2 separate regions of the Homo sapiens genome follow, and region 1 is linked to region 2. Evidence: promoter capture Hi-C in 16 types of primary human blood cells and fetal thymus (Javierre and others, 2016). All regions are on one chromosome and are shown on one strand. The core of a region is centred on a gene start or on the middle of the fragment in contact, and the rest is flanking DNA. Distances in the headings are between cores, read along the strand shown.

The links. The method cuts DNA at HindIII sites, captures the fragments that hold promoters and counts their contacts. A CHiCAGO score of 5 or more calls a contact.
Region 1: a contact is called between a fragment that was not itself captured here and the fragment with the promoter of GPR19 in region 2, in 1 of 17 cell types (endothelial precursors). The highest score is 5.0, in endothelial precursors.

The regions. Positions count from the first base shown.
Region 1 is chr12:12,050,369-12,053,315 of GRCh38, forward strand. It overlaps a transcript of BCL2L14 not described here. Among named protein-coding and RNA genes, the nearest start is that of BCL2L14, 19 kb to the right of the region's middle. The HindIII fragment of the contact is 1,396 bases long and covers 565-1,960 here.
Region 2 is chr12:12,694,706-12,697,432 of GRCh38, forward strand. GPR19 (G protein-coupled receptor 19) reads right to left here and starts at 1,478. Exons shown (of 4, transcript NM_006143.3): 1 at 1,360-1,478; 2 at 754-806. RefSeq lists enhancers at 1,226-1,385, 1,566-1,645. The HindIII fragment of the contact is 8,608 bases long and covers 1-2,727 here.

The DNA.
Region 1 (2,947 bases), core at 13-2,512, 640 kb before region 2:
CTTGCAGTGAGCCTAGATTGCGCCACTGCACTCCAACCTGGGCGACAGAGGGAGACACCATCTCAAAAAAAAAAAAAAAAAGAAAAGAAAAGAAAAGAAGAAACAAAGAGCCTCAAAAATATGGAAAACCAGATCCTAAGAGCAAAATGCCAAGGGGGACACTTATTAGTGAGGAGTCTGCAAAAACAGAAAGGTTTTAGCCAGAAGCTTATAGGAGTAGACCTGGAACCCAAATTGAAAAGGAACAGTGCGACCCGTAATTTGAGAAGGAAATAGAATAGGCAGAAGAACTACAGAAACTATAGCTTCGAGTCTAAGAGCCTATTTACAGGGGTGTCCAATCTTTTGGCTTCCCTGGGCCACACTGGAAGAAGAATTGTCTTGGGCCACACATAAAACACACTAACACTAATAGCTGATGAGCTAAAAAAAAAAAAAAAAAAAAGAAAAGAAAAGAAAAGAAAAAAGAATGGCCGTGCATAAATCTCATAATGTTTTAAGAAAGTTTACAAATTTGTGTTGAGCCACATTCAAAGCCATCCTGGGCCTCATGCAGCCCGTGGAAGCTTGCATAAGAGAGAGATTTAGGACCTTTTGGCGGAAGTGCTCGATAAGGATTGAATAGCACCATAAACTGAAGCTAAACTGAAAGGTTTTAGAATTTAACTTAAGACACCTCAAATGCTTTTAGATGAAACTCAGGACTTTTCACTGTAGTAAAGTTCAGCGTGAAATTGACCTTGTAGGGGCACCAGACAGCAGTGAGCAGGGTGTATAAGAGTGAGGGAGGGGTTAATAAATAGAGATGGTGGGAAAAGGAGCTGGCTTTTCGTGAGTTCAGCTTCTTGCAGACTAGACTAGCAAGAGTCAAGAATGAACCTAAGCCAGACTCAGGTCTACTGGGCAGTGCTAGGCCTGTCTCAACCCTGTTTGCACATCAGGTACCCCATGCGTCTGCTGTAGTCTGTAGCTACATGGGAACCTAAAACATCACCGAGGTTTCTAGTGATGTTGAAACTCAGCTAATAAACAGGGAATCCCGAGGGTTCCCCTCTACTCCACTCCTGACAGTGGCCATCCTGCCTCTGCTTGAATACCTTAACTCGCCTCTCATGAGGCACCCATCTCCTCATTAAATGATTGTCACTGGGAAGAATCCGCCCCACACAGCCAGATCAAATTTACCCCCTGGTAACTTTCAGCCCCTGGTCCCCATTCTGCTCTTTAGCACTAGGTAGCTGAATCGAATCTTTCCATGAGAGTCAATTCCATTCCTCCTAAATCTTCTCTCTTCTAAGATAAATAGTCCACATTATACAATCTTAATACCCAATTCAATGAGCACTTCATGATAGTCTAATATATGCAAAGCACCATGCTTGTGCCAAGTGGGACCCTAAAGCGAATATTATCTCCTTGCTCTTTAGGCAAACAGGGTGAAGACAAGAGGCATAGGTGATGGACACTAAAACAAAGACCGTAAGTACTGTAATAGCTACACACAACTTACAATCATATAGGCATGGGGAAAGAGTAGCCCAGCTTACCTTGGAGGATCTGGAAAGGTTCTAAGAAGAAGTGGAATTGAGTTGGAGTTGGAAAGACTTCAACAATCAGATGTGAGAAGGACGTGGGTGGTGAGTGCAAAGAAAATAGGACACGGCTGAGGACCTTGTTTTCTTTTTCTTTTTTGAGGTTTTTTTCTTCTTCCTTTGTTTTTCGTTTTATTTTTATTTTTCATTAACAAGTAGTAATAATACATGTTTATGGAGTACAATTTGATGTTTTGATATAGGTTTACAATGTGGAATGATTAAATCAGGCTAATTAGTAAATCCATCACCTCACAAACTTACCAATTTTTTGCAGTAAAAACATTTAAGATCTACTTTTAGCAATTTTGAAATATACAATGCATTATTACTTATTATAGTTACCATGCTGTGCAATTGATTAGTAAAGCTTATTCCTCTTGTCTAACTGAAACTGTGTAGCCTTTTCCCAACCACCGCTCCACCCCCAGTCCCTGGTAACCACCATTGTACTCTCTACTTCTATGAGATCAACTTTCTCAGATCCTACCTATGAGTGAGATCGTGCAATATTTGTCTTTCTGTGCCTGGCTTATTTCACTTAGCGTAGTGTCCTCCAGATTCATCCATGTTGTCCCAAATCACAGGATTTCACCCCTGTTTAAGGCTGAGTAGTATTCTATTGTGCATATATACCACATTTTCTTTATTCATTCATCTGTTGATGGACACCTAGATTGATTCCATATCTTGGCTATGGTAAATCGTGTTGCAATGAACATGGGAGTTCAGGTGTCTCTTCAACATACTGATTTCAATGCCTTTGGATAAATACCCAGAAGTGGGATTGCTGTATCAGGACCTTGGTTTCTTAGCTTCTGTCTGACCTTGAGCATACCTAAAATAAGAGCCCTGAACGAGATAATTTCTAAAGTTTAGTGATAGAGACCAAAAGGAGTATACGTCTGAGCATTCCAACTTAGGCCAAAGCCTAAAAGTGAGAAGCCTGCCCATATCAAGGGAGTGAGGTGTGTGTTTGGGGCAGGGGTAGTAGAAGAGCAAGACGGTTCATGAATTCAGTATTCTTGTTTCACTGATGCAGCACCCATCACCATTCTGATCAGGTCCCTTGGGGACATGGACAGTGTCCTTAGAATGACAATGATGATGGTACCACCAGCACCACCACCACCATTTCTCTAGCATGTGGGTGAGCCAAACACCTTTGGAAACACCTTACATATTTACATTTACATCCTACTGAATCCTCATAACAGCCCTGTGAGATAGATAGAATTTTTATTATTCTCATTTTACAAATTAGAAAGCTGAGGCACAGAAAGGTTAAATAACTTGCCCAAGTCCATAGGGCTAATCTAATAGCAGAGCTGGGATTTGAAGGCAAGTAGTCTCAC
Region 2 (2,727 bases), core at 228-2,727:
GAGTGACTGGCAGACCCTAAAGTCAAAGCCCAGGTCTGATTCCCAATTGTACACACTTTATATGACATCATATCGAGATGTCATGCCTCTCAGAGCTGGATGATCCCACTCCCTAAAACAAGACACCCAGGCTTCAACCCTGAAATCCTATTCCATTGCCTCCATGGATTTTTCCTGCAGCATTTTCCTATGCACTTCACACATACAGCGCAGCTGCCAGGATATACTTTAGGCTGCCAAAATGAAATGAAGTCACTTTCTTGGTAAGTGATTACCATGCCTGGCTCTTTACTGAAGTACTTCCATTCTATATATTCACACTGGGATCCTTCTCCATCACTGCTAGCTTCAATCCTGTGGCTTTCCATATTTAGTTTTTCTTACAGATGAAGTGATACTCTTTACCTATCAGCCATTCCTTTGTTGGAGTAAAATTACGTATTCCATCAGCATTCTTCTGCCTTGTACTCCAGATAGTATACAAAGAATCAAATTATAGTAGCTAAGTGGCATAGAATTGCTGCCGATATCAAGATGGACTCTAATATCTAGTGAACTGGGAGGCTAGAGGCTAGAAGTATGTACTTCTGTAAGGTGTCAGTGACACATCTGAGTAATGTGGTAGCTAAATGCCACCATTTCATTCCATGAAATCCACATTTCATTCTGGCTAAAGGGTAAAGCTGGTGAGAGGTGGGAGGGGCCAGGAGGCTCCATCGGAAGGAGGCAGACACTTCAGGTGTTGGGTGGTACCTTTAAGATGTTGCGGGGCCAAATCCAATGCCGGTGCAGGTGTCCCATATATCCTGAGAGACAAAAAGAGGTCAGATTGGTCAGATCCCTCGAGACAGTTCCCAAATTCCTGACTTCTGTTACCGCGACTGTTCTTCGCAATTCCACCTCGGCCTGTGTTCAGGACTGTGGCTTTTAGAATCTTCCTCATTCCATTCCATTAGGGGCGTCCCGATTTCCACCTTATATACACCATGTACTAAATGCATGCCATTTCTGCCTGTTTACAAACATGCATAAGTTCACACTCTTTTAAGAAAAATGTCCTCTACTGTCAACTTCTTTCTAGTCTGGCCTCCCAGGTAGGCTACAGAGCTACTGCCTTCATTTATCTCTCAAATCTTCCCATCTTCTCCTTCCCACTGTATTACCTTAGCTCACACTCACATCCTCTTGGTCACCAGCCAAAAAATAAATAAAACTCCTTTGTCCCTTCAGATTTCTCTCTTATTCTACAACCTCATTAATCGGCTCTCCCGCTCCCACTCCTTTACTACTTCAGTCGCTGAAACCTCCCCTCACAGAGTTCACGGCCAATATAAAAACGGAAAGAAGGGATGACCATACGAGCTTGTGGACTTTTGCCTGCAAAATCTCATAGAATGTGGTGTTGTGTACGTGAATCCATCAGATCAACGCGACGGACACTCCCCAAGGGCCAAATCGGACCGCCTCTCACTAGGCGGAAAGTTTTGAAACTTTTGCGCGCTAAAAATGATGAGCCAGACGCATGCGCAAACGTGCACTCCCGGGGTGGCGCTTCTCCTCAGGCAGATCTCGCGTGGTTTGGTGATGGCCGGCTAGTATGAAGGTTTTCCGTGGCGTTGAGATCCCACCCGCCCTTTTTTTTTTTTTTTTTTTTTTTTTTTTTTTTTTTTGCTGCCCCAGTGGATTAGGATTAGTGCTGCAGTCAAATGAAAAAGATCAAGACAAAAAATTAGGCTAATATAACTAGCCGACAGGCTAGCGGCATTTCTCTGGGGCCGAGGAATTCCACGAAGAAGATCTCTGCGAGGCCCAGAAGGCCGCACAACTACTTCTTCAGAAACAAAATTTTTTAAAAAAGTAAAAATAGAGGAAGTCAGCCAGTTTATCACCTTGGAACCAGCGTTTTGTTTGGCTTTTCCGCTTTTCACTCTACGAAAAAGCCCATTGGCGGCTACCCAGGTTACCGTCCTGTTGCCATTGCGCCTGCGCGGCGGTTTGTTTACCAGTCCAGGCGAAGCGCTGTGTCGCGGTTCTCGCCGCCCCGAGCGCCTTGGTTTGCTCCCTTGACGTGTAATTCGTAATGAAAGTCATGTTTTCATTTGGGAACACGGATCGGAGGTTTAAAACTGGACAGTTTAAGTGTCAACTTCAGACCAAAGAAAATAATGGTAGGGAAAACACTGGACACTCAGAAATCGGTGCCGCGTCAGAGCTGTCACGGAAGATGTTTCTAATGAACCTGAGGAAAACAATAGCACCACCCTAACCAGAACTAAAAAGTGGCAAGCAGCCACAGTTAATGAAACTCATAGGTGGCATTTAGTTACTTATTTAGAATGTAGGCCTAGTTATGGTAAAAATGCAAATAAGACCAAACCTAAGGTCCTCTTGCTCGAGCAAACCTCAAGCAAAACCTACATGATTTAAGACTGACTCTTGAAGCGAAGTAAAAAAAAAAAAAAAAAAAAAAAAGCAGCCATGCAAAATTTGAAACTTGGAGACGACTCTAGAAGCATTAACCCAAGAAAGCACAAGCCAACAAACAAATTTTTGAAATGGTTTGAAGAGCTCTTCAAAGTCAGTTTCAGGTGGCTTAGAAGAGGATGTTGCTTATAAAATGAGATCTGATGGAAACTTGTTTTACAGATATGACTGGATTCGTTTGAAAACAAAAAAAAAGGCAGGCAAAGTGACTTTTTAAAAAGTATTTTTATGGAAGGATTTCTA